Linked DNA regions of Homo sapiens: region 1 is linked to region 2. Evidence: promoter capture Hi-C in human tissues and cell types (Jung and others, 2019). All regions are on one chromosome and are shown on one strand. Each heading gives the region's core, a stretch centred on a gene start or on the middle of the fragment in contact. The rest is flanking DNA. Distances are from core to core; before and after follow the strand shown.

Region 1 (6,224 bases), core at 967-3,466, 1.3 Mb after region 2:
TCCAGTGGGCTGGAGAATCCACTTTTTAAATGGCCTTCTTCACGTGGCTGGCAAAAGTTGGTGTTGACTGCTGGCTGGGAGTTCAACTGAGGCTGTTGGCCCAAACCTCAGTTCTTCTTCACATGGTTGGTTGGGCTTTTCACAGGCAGTAAGTCTGAGAAGTCAAACTTCTAACACAGCAGCTGGCTTCCCCCGAATGCAAAAACAGAAGCTATCAGGCCTTCTTAAGGCATAGTCCCAAACTGGCATAACATCACTTCCAACGCATTCTACTATTGATTAAAGCAAGTGACAGGCCCAATCAGACTCAAGAGAAGAGAACTCCTAAAGGTGCAAATATTGGGAAGCCTGGTTCATTTGGGGCCACCAAAGTAGCAGTGTACTGTAAGATAGTCACCCTGCCAAGTGTTCTGTAGCTGTATATTTGTAATTACTTCTAATTGTATTGAGTTTTAAAAGTAATCTCTAAAAAAAAATCAGTGTTTCCATATCAAAAATCTATTGATGTTTATAATAGCATCCAACATATGCAAGTGTTAGCTCATACCACTAATTATTACTAAATCAGTATTATAGTTCTTTGCCTCCTATTTTCGCCATATCTGTCAGGTACATTCATAATCGTTCCAAATGAGCAGTCACTGAAATAATTTCAGGTTATTGTATCTTTCTGAAACTATAATTTGTTGTTTAGAAAGTAATCTGCATATTGAGAGACTTTGTAAGGGTTCAAACATAATCAAACTCCACCTTTCTGACCAGTAACTTTTTTCCCTGAAGATGAATGCTTTTAACTTCAAGAAACAGAACACCCAAGCAACAGACTTAGAGTCTAAACAGTAAAGACCTTTAATCATCTTTTTTTTTTTTTTTTTGAGATGGAGTCTGTCGCCCAGGCTAGAGTGAGGTGGCTCCACCTCGGCTCACTGCAACCTCCACCTCCCGGATTCAAGCGATTCTCCTGCCTCAGCCTCCCTAGTAGCTGGGACTACAGGTATGCACCACCACGCCCGCCTAGTTATTTTGTTTTTTTGTTTTTTGTATTTTTAGTAGAGACAGGATTTCACCATGTTGGCCAGGCTGGTCTCGATCTCTTGACCTAGTTATCGAGACCACCTCAGCCTCCCAAAGTGATGAGATTACAGGTATGAGCCACTGCACCCGGCCAAGACCTTTAATTAACTTACACAACAAAGTCTGGAGATAGGCAGTTCCAAGCATGGTACAGCAGCTCAATGATATCATCAAGTATTTGGGTGTTTTCTATCTTTGCCCTCAACCATCTTCAGCACGTGAGTTTTTCTTTCCTTTTTTTTTTTTTTTTTGAGACGGAGTCTCGCTCTTGTTGCCCAGGCTGGAGTGCAGTGGCACAATCCCGGCTCACTGCAACCTCTGCATCCCGGGTTCAAGTGATTCTCCTGCCTCAGCCTCCCGAGTAGCTGGGATTACAGGCGCCCACCACCACGCCCGGCTAATTTTTGTATTTTTAGTAGAAATGGGGTTTCACCATGTTGGCCAGGATGGTCTCGACCTCCTGATCTCGTGATCCACCCACCTCGGCCTCCCAAAGTACTGGGATTACAGACCTGAGCCACCGCGCCCGGCCTGCACGTGAGCTTTTCATCTGGAAACTTGTCCCCTCATGGTCAGTCCTCACACCACCCCACTTACAGAAGAAAAAAATGGAAAGGTGAAGTCTCCTCTGGAAGCTTCGTCTTTTTATCTGGGAGGAAAATATTTCCCAGAAGCTGCCTTCTTTTAATTTCTGTCAGACTCTAGACTACCCTCAAATTTCACTGGACCTGCGATTACAATATTACCTAGCAATAAGAATCAAAAGAATCGAACATCATTGAGTGGGAAAAATCCTCTGCAAGTACAGCCAAGCCTTTTCTGAGGCTATTTTTAAACTTACAAATCAGAGGACAATCGCGACATTAGAGGAAAATTACCCAGGTTTACGCCATCACTAACGATGATAGCTTACGATGATAGCTAACCCAGCTCTTCAACTTCCTTTCAATCTCCAGAAAAGGCTCTCTGCGTGCTAATGGTAACGTGGCTTTACAGATTTTTACCCACTTCAAATATGGCCGCCAAGCTCCGTTCTCTTTTACCGCCTGATCTGCGGCTACAATTCTGGCTTCATGCCCGCCTCCAAAAGTGCTTCCTCTCGAGGGGTTGTGGTTCTTACTGCGCAGGCGCAAAAGCAAGTCCTCTTCCGGGCAAAATGGCGATGGGACTAATGTGCGGACGCCGGGAGCTTCTGCGCTTGCTACAGTCCGGGCGTCGGGTAAGGATGCCCCGGGGCAGAGCACCGGGATGCTGCCCTGACCCAGTGAACCAGGCCCCAGGACAGCTCGTGCTAGGGGTATCAGCAGACGCTGACCTGCTCACCGGGACCTGAATGTCATGACCTCGGGTCATGTGAGGACGCGCTAGGGTTAGTCCCCGACACTATGGGCCCAGCAGCCCGGTGTCAGCTTCTGGAATTGGCTTGGCTCCTGGCGAGAGCACCTCGGCCTCGTTCTCAGGGCCCTCCGATGTGGGTCTGCGATAACTGAGATGCGGGGAACCCAGGTTCGAGCTTCGCTCTGCAGGCACCACCCGCTGCATGCCTTCGGGCTAGCGGTCTGCGCGCGGTGATAGCAATGTCCTCCCCTGTAGTGGCCGAGCTGCCTGCTTCTTGGGGAGTTAGCATAATGAATCCCGTTTGCACCCACGCGAGGACTTCTGCTCCCGGTAAAGGGGCTCCATCATCCTTTTACACGCTCAGGTCCACAGCGTCGCAGGGCCCTCGCAATGGCTTGGGAAACCGCTGACCACACGGCTCCTATTCCCAGCAGCCCCGTGCTGCTGTCGCCCACACTACCTCTTCCTTGCGGCTTCCGGCCCCCGCAGCCTCAGTACCTCTGCTATCTCTTTTGCAGAAGTCCAGGTAAGAGGCCTTTCGTTCCTGCAATATTAGGAGTGGTGTTTCCTGGTTGGTTTCATATTTTGTTTTGTTTGGGAGCAGGGGGAATATGGAGCAGAGTTCTTGTCCACGCTCCACACAGCTCTCCAAAATGATAGCATCTCTGCTTAGGATGGATTTTCAATTCAGTGGGGAAATGATTGAAAGTACAACAGGAGAGATGTTATATTTGGTTTTCTGAGCTGTTTTAAAGAAAAGCAATTGTTTCATGTTAATATATGGCAAAAATCATGATAGTGATATTCAAATGGCTGAAGTTTGGAAAACAGTGATAAAAGAAATAACTTCCCAGCATGAAGGGAAGTCATGGATTCTTACTCAAAGTAACTTCTCTTCCTAACTATTGATAAAAATGAGATGTCCTTTTTAAGCTTGAAATCTGCAGACACTAGGCTAACCTGGAAGAACAAGAAGTAGAGAGAACAGAACCCAGTACTGGTTATTATAAAAAGATCTCACTTGCTTTGTGTTCGCTACTGAATAAATATAATACAAGGCTTTCTTTCACACAGGTTCAGGCCCCTCCTGTTGTTGCTGCAACTCCCTCACCCACAGCAGTACCTGAGGTGGCTTCTGGAGAGACTGCAGATGTAGTCCAAACTGCTGCAGAGCAGAGCTTCGCTGAACTGGGGCTGGGGTCATACACCCCAGTGGGACTGATCCAGAATTTACTGGAATTTATGCATGTTGATCTGGGCCTACCTTGGTGGGGGGCCATTGCTGCATGTAAGGGGAATATACCCTGGACATGGGTTAGGGATTTAACCTCATAGATGGCAATTCTTTGAATGGATTCAGGAAGTAGTTGCAGAAGCTCTGGGGTCAGAAGAGCAGATGATTTCAAATGAGCAATAGAGGTTCATGATACCTAGATGCACTCTGCCTATATTTCTTAAAGAGCATTATAAAACCACCAGATCATCTGGGATTCAAGAAGTGTAGATATTTGAATACAAACATGGGGTTAGAGTCAGGGGACCTTATTAACAGTCATGAAGCTATCCTGGTTTAGAACAGAGGTTCAGGTCAGGCACTTAAACCCCTAAATTGGGAAGCCACTAGCATTGCTTTTGTAAAGGCTAGAACTCTGCTTTGAATTATGTGTCTTTCTGCCACGTTGCTCCATCAATTATCTTTTCTCCCCTGTGTCTTCAGCATTTCCCTCCTCACTGCCCTACCCCGAACATGTAAACATGCTCAGGCACACCCATGTGTTACCTGGGGGAAGGTTTCTTCCCTTCATCCTTAGTTCCCCTTCACTTACTATCCTATCTTCTTCCTTTGATGGCTGTTATTTATTTTGTTGTTGTTAATTTTTGTGGATACCTAGTAGGTGTATATATTTATGGGCTACATGAGATGTTTTGATAGAGGCATGCAAGGTGTAATAATCACATTATGGAGAATGAGATATCCATCCCCTTAAGCATTTATCCTTTAAGTTACAAACAATCCAATTACACTTTTATTTTATTTTTTATTTTATTTATTTTTTTAAACGGAGTCTTGCTCTGTCACCCAGGCTGGAGTGCAGTGGTGCAGTCTCAGCTCACTGCAACCTCCACCTCCCAGGTTCTAGCGATTCTCATGTCTCAGCCTCTCAAGTAGCTGGGACTACAGGTGTGCCACCACACCTGGCTAATTTTTACGTTCTTTATTTAAAAATATGCTATTATTACTGACTATAGTCACCCTGTTGTGCAATCAATAGTAGATCTTATTCTAACTTTTTTTTACCCATTAACTATTCCCAACCCTGACTACCCTTCCCAGCCTCTGGTACCTTCCTTCTACTCTCTGCCCATGATTTCATTTGTTTTGATTTTTAGATCTCACAAATAAGTGAGAACATGGCGATGTTCGTCTTTCTGTGCTTGCCTTATTTCACTTAACATAGTGATCTCCAGTTCCATCCACGTTGTCACAGATGACTGGGTTTCATTCTTTTGATAGCTGTTACTTAAAAGACTGCTCTGCATCCAATTAGCCTACTTCTTTCCATTTACTCCCTCAGCCGTCTGGCTTTTACTCATATCACCTCATTCGAACTGCCAGTAACATAATTGCTAAATCCACTCCTGTCAGCTTTTTGTTTGAGGAAACAAACAGGATTCCTAATCATCTGCTTAGAGAAGTTAATGCCATACTTTTGTGATGCCAAATTAGAGAACTGAGCCTTAAAGCAACTAATTCATTCCCCTGACCTTATTTCTGGGCCTCTTAGGCATGAGTCATAGAATGGACAAGGCAAGAATAAGACCCTTTCAGTAAGGACCTAAAAGCCTTCAACCTTCTAGCTGCAGAACTGCTTTAATTTCACTCCAATCCTAGTTTGTATTTTCCAGGTACAGTCTTTGCCCGCTGCCTGATTTTTCCTCTCATCGTGACGGGCCAGCGAGAGGCAGCCAGGATCCACAATCACTTGCCAGAGATCCAGAAGTTTTCCAGTCGAATCAGAGAGGCCAAGTTAGCAGGAGACCATATTGAGTGTGAGTCAGTTGCAGAATGAGCGTGGGAGAAGTCCACATTTGCACTTTTCCTTACATTCTGCTGGGGGAAAGGAACAATGTAAATCAGAAGTTGCCACAGTCGGGAAAGTTCTAAAGGTTTATCTGTTTCTTAGACCTAATGCTCCCAAGGAGTGGCCAGGGTTGGTTAGAAATTTCACAGGCCAGGTAGATAATGAGGATGTTCACCTCCACTGATGTAACTGTTACCCCAACCATTAATTTCCCCTCACCTCACAGATTACAAGGCTTCCTCGGAGATGGCACTTTACCAGAAAAAACATGGTATTAAACTCTATAAACCTCTCATTCTCCCTGTGACTCAGGTGAGCAAAAACATTTCCTTCCTTATTTCATCCAGTACCCATGAAATTTCCTCTCTGTGTTTCATGTGTCCCAGGTCCCCCAAAAAACAGGTGGTGGTGGATTATACATGGCTTTCAGTAGTGGGGTGATGAAAATGTTCTCTCTGGTAAAGCATGCTGACACTGTTTATCTTGTGTAATAGGCCCCAATCTTCATCTCCTTCTTCATTGCTTTGAGAGAGATGGCCAACCTTCCTGTGCCCAGCCTGCAGACAGGTGGCCTCTGGTGGTTCCAGGATCTCACGGTATCCGATCCCATCTACATATTACCACTGGCAGTCACTGCTACAATGTGGGCTGTTCTTGAGGTAAGCCCAGATTGGCCAAGTGCCAGGCCTGCAAAGTGAACTGGGGTTGGAGGGTAAAGTAGTTGTACAG
Region 2 (5,579 bases), core at 341-2,840:
GGTCAGGCTGGTCTCGAACTCCTGACTTCAAGTGATCCGTCCGCCTCCACCTCCCAAAGTGCTGAGATTACAAGCGTGAGCCACTATTTCAGTTTTAAACTTTCTCCTAAGCCTGTCTCTTCAAACTTGCCTACTCTCTCTTTGGCCAATATCTTTCACTTGCCTTCAGATCCACTGACACGCCTCTCTTGCAGCAGAAGGTCTTCTTACATGGAAAATGTTTTTCTTATCATAACTCTTTTTTTAAGGGTTGGGATAATTCCAAAGTACTTGAAATAAGTTTCTCATATCTTGCTCTATGAGGTTGACTAGAATTTGTTCTGAAACCTATTGGATGACCAATACAAAAGAAATTCCTAAGCAGAAGACACGATCTAATTAACTAACACAGGACACGATTCAAATCACAAACTCACTTTCGATATGTAATGTGCCCCACACCAGATGACTTCAGCATATGCTAACCTAGGCTGAGAATCCTTGACTGAGTCGACAAACTCAGAAAAGCATGGAGATGAAACGATCTGTAGACGCCGCTGTGATGGTAGGATGCAGCAGACACTGATAAGGCAGCTCCCCTGGCTTGTGTTTGGGGCGCTCCGCTGTTTATTCTTTAATAGAAAAAGACAGAGTTCTAAATCTTTGACTTCTGGCTCACTTTGCTTAGCCATACGAAAGAGATGGGTCCACTATATACCTTTTCTGTGAAGACCCTAACCGCTTCAAGACTGTCCCTTAAAAAGCAAGAGGCTGCTGCATTTATACAGCTGCTGCAGGGAAATTCCCTGCGACACTAGAGACAGGTAAATAAACTGCATTCGTTCCAAAGCAGGGGGAAGGGTCTTCTATCAGTGACGAGTTTACATAATGCAACGGAAAACCAGTGAGCTCTGCAGACCTGTCAAGGAGGATGCAAGGCTTGAGCTCCTCTCTTCCCACCATCTCTAAACATTCTCCAACAGCCTGCTCTTCACTGCCAGGAGACCCACAGAACTTACACCTGAGAATGAGTAACAATCTGCTTACGCTTACCCCATGCTTTCCTACCCACCTTTATTATTAAAATACAGAAGAAAAAAAAATAAAAAGAAGTAGAAAACCCTAACCACCTATTTCTGAATCCAAAGTATGGAGTAACCAAACGGGGCCGAGGAGTTTTCCCTTCTCTGAAGAGAGGAGAACAAGGCGCCGCCTCCAATCTACACTACGCCCAGTAATGCAATGACAAGCCCTGAAAACTCCACAGCGTCCCAAGCAGTCCCTCGCGGCTCGGCCCGGCTCGGACCCCGCGGCCCGGCAGCCACCCTCTCCCCCGGCCTCTCACAAAGGAGACTGGTTCAGTCCGGAGCATCACCCCGCACCTGATCCCTCACAACTGGGGGGCGAGCAGGGGGTGGAAGAGAGAGGAGAAGGAGTTACTTAAATCAAATCTCTGAGAGCCTCAGCTTTTGCTGACTCCTGGCCCAGCACTGAGGAGCGGGTGCGAGCGGGAAGCCTACCTGTGCAAGTCCTGGTACTTCCTTTCCAGGCAGCGTTTCAACTCACCCTCTCCGAGAACAAGGCGCCTTCCGGCGGAGCATGGCCAGCCCTCGCCTCAATCTAGCTTGCTAGTAGTCCATTCTCCCTAGGCTCCGCCCCCCTGCGCTCCCATCCGCCAATGGCAGCACCGAAGCCCGGCCTCTTCCAGCGAGCTAGTGTGAGCGCCATCCAGGAAGTCTCTTGAGGGTGGAAGGTCCTAGGAGGATGAGAAGGGTACGTAGGCGACCACAAATATGCCTGATTGAAAATAAAATCTGGCGGCGGCTCGCCTCTGACGACTCAGTTCACAGGCGGCCAGGCCCCTCGGCATCTTTTTTTGACCCCCGCCATTGGGGGCGCTGTGAACTAAAACAACACTTAGTTACCTACTTCTGGGAAGCCATCTTGGCTCGGACTCCGGGACTGGGTGAGAGTGCTTAAAGAATGTGAAGACCCTGTCGGTGTTCTGTCCGACTATCTAGGTCCAGCCCGAACATACTCTGCTGTATACACTTAGGAGGCCCCTCAGTCACGACGTGAAACCCTGGAGTAATGCCGTATGTGGTTACGGGCAACAACCACCACCACCCTCTCACTTAACTGTAGGAGTAAAGCAATTTTAACAAATCAAATAAGCAAAAATTAATTCTTCTAATGAGAGTGAAAGTTGCACTTTCCTAGGGTAATCCTTTATGGACACCTCACTCAAAATATCAGGACATGTATCTATTATAGGTGCTACTAAGCTTTAGGATTCACTGCAAATTTTCCAGTAGGGGCACTGTGAATCAGTTGGAAATCAAGAACAGGACTTAAGGAGGAATTCCTTTTTTTTTTTAAAGGCCTAATTTTTTTTTTTTTTTTTGAGATGGAGTCTCGCTCGGTCACCCAGGCTGGAGTGCAGTGGGGCGATCTCGGCTCACTGCAACCTCTGCCTCCCGGGTTCAAGCAATTCTCCTGTCTCAGCTTCCTGAGTAGCTGAGACTACAGGCTCCCGCCACCACGCCCAGCTAATTTTTGTATTTTTAGTAGAGACGGGGTTTCGCCATGTTGGTCAGGCTGGTTTCGAACTCCAGACCTCAAGTGATCCGCCCACCTCGGCCTCCCAAAGTGCTGGGATTACAGACATGAGCCACCATTCCTGGCCAAGAAATCTTTTTTAAAGTTGTGAGTGAGGGAATCCTTCCAGATTATTAAAGGAATTTCTCAAGGAGTAACATAATTGCATGGTCTTACATGATAGGAGCTCAGAGACATCAAGAAGTCATATGAGTGATAAGACTCGGCCTTAAGCTGGGCGCAGTGGCTCACGCCTGTAATCCCAGCACTTTGGGAGGCTGAGGCGGGTGGATCGCCTGAGGTCAGGAGTTCGAGAGCAGCCTGGCCAACATAGTGAAACCCCGTCTCTAGTAAAGATACAAAAAAAAATTAGCCGGGCGTGGTGGCAGACACCCATAATCCCAGCTACTCGGGAGGCTGAGGCAGGAGAATCGCTTGAACCCAGGAGGCGGAGGTTGTGGTGAGCCAAGATCTCACCACTGCACTCCAGCCTGGGCAACAAGAGCGAAATTCCATCTCAAAAAAAAAAAAAAAAAAAAAAAAAAAAAAAAAAAGACTTGGCCAAATACATTTCCCTGTGTATCAAAATCTGTCAGCCAAGACAGGCGCGGTAGCTCACGCCTGTAATCCCAGCACTTTGGGAGGCCGAGGCGGGTGGATCACCTAAGGTCCGGAGTTCAAGACCAGCCTGACCAACATGGAGAAACCCCGTCTCTACTAAAAATACAAAAGTAGCTGGGTGTGGTGGTGCATGCCTGTAACCCCAGCTACTCAGGAGGCTGAGGCAGGAAAATCACTTGAACTCGGGAGGCGGAGGTTGTGGTGAGCCTAGATCATGCCATTGCACTCCAGCCTGGGCAACAAGCGGGAAACTCTGTCTCAAAAAAAAAAAAAAAAAAAATCTGTCAACCAAATTCTCTCCTGGCTACTGCTGCCATTATATCAATTTGATGTTAGTATTAAGATTTATCAGAACAATGTGTTTGTCTGTAAATGCATATACAGATATAACCTTAATTATTAATAGTTTCTAGGATGAGAGCCTATTATCCATCTGGTACAGAATAGACCTGTCATCAAAGGAGCTATAGATATTATGGAAATGGGAACAGGTGTGCCTGAACCAATTTCTGGTACCTACACTGATCTTAGTATGATTTCCAATGGTCTTGGCCTTCAAAAACCAATGGACATTGGTAAGACTATAGATGGAAAAAAAAAAAAAGTGGACATTATTTCATAACTACCATTCTTCATATGGGGTGGCATATCCACTTTTTATAATTCTTCATGACCACTTCACTCAGAATACAGATGATTTTGCCCAGATACTTTTTTTTCTCATGCTTCCCTTACAATTGGTGCAATACCCAAGTACAGAAGGTCATAAGTCGGCTTGGTTAATAGAACAAGATATGGGCATTAATATTAAAAAACTGTGCTCCAAAATATCAAAATGGTATCCTTTATTGACTCTGAAAGCAGTAGCTCTAGGCAGAATGCTGTCTTTGACCAATCCTCTAATGCTTCTCAATTGCTAAAGATTGTTTTTTTGGGTAGTAAAAAAAAAAAAAACAAAAAAAAAACCTTCTGTACAGAAACTAGTTTTTATTACTTTAGTTTTCGCCCAGAGGTAAGGGGGCAGGCTAACTCCAAGTTCAACAGCTTCAAATCCTTTTTGGAATCAGATAGGATTTTAAAAACAAAACAAAAGCATAACCAAAGCAATACCCCAAATGTCTTCCAACTTCCTGTGGTGCACTGTCAACTATTACTACTACTACTGGGGTCAGAATCGAGTATAGCATGAATCCCAAAGAGGCTTCTTCATTATCTTTGATTTAATTCCCTGAGAGGAGAGTATCTACTAATGTTTGGGATACAATTAGAAATGACACATGGAGTATGAATAGCTTTGATACATGCATATATTTAATAATGAAACAATTCATCAACAGCAAAAAGAAAGTAGAAAAATTCGTAAGACCTCAGGGCTGTGGAAGAGAACGGGACATCAAGGAAAAAAGATATATATAGCAACCAACCCAGAAGGCTGCATGATGAGTGAAGCAAAGGCAAGTTTGGCTAAGATAGTATTATATGCTCTGAAAAGAGAATGGCTGGATAGGTACCCACTTATGTGACTGCTTACTAGCAGGCAGCCTTACTGTATGCCTCATGGAATGGAGGCAAAAAGCCAGGGAAAGGTGGGAGGGGAGAAGGAAGAGAACTGTATAAAACCCAGGGTAAACAAATGAGTGGGGCAGAATTACAGAGAGAGGACTCTAAAGTCTTTTGTTTCCTTGAAAGTCTAAAATAAACCTTAAGTTTTTAACTATGTCAGTCAAATTCAATGAACACATAATGAGTAGCACTAGGCACTGTAAAGGAATGATAGGGGGAATAATTTATAAAAATAAAGGAATGACATGGATCCTGCTCTCAAGGAGCTTACAACTTATACGGAAAGACAAGATTCCACACAAAAACAACTGCAAACCATATTTACATAGTAACATACATAAAAATAAATATACATATAAATAGACATATGAATAACCAACATATGAAAACTAAGGAATATTGTGTTAATAACTGCTTAGCAGTACCTAAGTCTGTTACTAAAGAAAAAATTTTTGGACTTTTAAGTATAATTAGTGGAGAGTAGGGCATGTGCAAAGGTATGGAACTAGGAATAAATATGTCACATTCAGTAAGTAGATTAGCCTGATTGGAGTAGAAAGTCTAGGTCTAGTTAAGAAGGGAGTTTGATGAAACAGTAGAAGTCTATCTGGTGAAAGACACTACAATGTTAGATCTGGCCCCTAAAATAAAATGAACAGGGAACAAATGTTTTCTTTAGGTAATAATAAGTGGCCACATGTCCCTGACCAACTTCACTGCTCTTAAAAGTTTTGAAGTTACACTAAGAGATAGAAGCTAATAATAGGATAGTAGAGAAGTACTCAGTGCTCTTGGGCAAGTAGAGGAAACTGCCTTCT

The links. The method cuts DNA at HindIII sites, captures the fragments that hold promoters and counts their contacts. A contact is called where the count stands out against the background at its distance.
Region 1: the fragment with the promoter of OXA1L here is called in contact with the fragment with the promoter of CHD8 in region 2 in 2 of the 25 tissues and cell types used here (dorsolateral prefrontal cortex and hippocampus).

The regions. Positions count from the first base shown.
Region 1 is chr14:22,764,472-22,770,695 of GRCh38, forward strand. OXA1L (OXA1L mitochondrial inner membrane insertase) reads left to right here and starts at 2,217. Exons shown (of 10, transcript NM_005015.5): 1 at 2,217-2,293; 2 at 2,777-2,938; 3 at 3,487-3,700; 4 at 5,320-5,463; 5 at 5,722-5,807; 6 at 5,990-6,154. The coding sequence starts at 2,231. It overlaps OXA1L-DT (OXA1L divergent transcript), which reads right to left and starts at 2,091. Exons shown (of 3, transcript XR_001750638.3): 1 at 1,953-2,091. RefSeq lists enhancers at 812-1,375, 1,376-1,938, 1,939-2,502, 2,096-2,325. The HindIII fragment of the contact is 11,434 bases long and covers 1-6,224 here.
Region 2 is chr14:21,454,533-21,460,111 of GRCh38, forward strand. It overlaps CHD8 (chromodomain helicase DNA binding protein 8), which reads right to left and starts at 1,591. Exons shown (of 38, transcript NM_001170629.2): 1 at 1,500-1,591. It overlaps LOC124903283 (a long non-coding RNA gene), which reads left to right and starts at 1,865. Exons shown (of 2, transcript XR_007064064.1): 1 at 1,865-1,945. RAB2B (RAB2B, member RAS oncogene family) reads right to left here. Exons shown (of 8, transcript NM_032846.4): 8 at 4,488-5,579. RefSeq lists enhancers at 1,334-2,023, 1,888-2,439, 2,054-2,103, 2,114-2,163, 2,440-2,991. The HindIII fragment of the contact is 24,117 bases long and covers 1-5,579 here.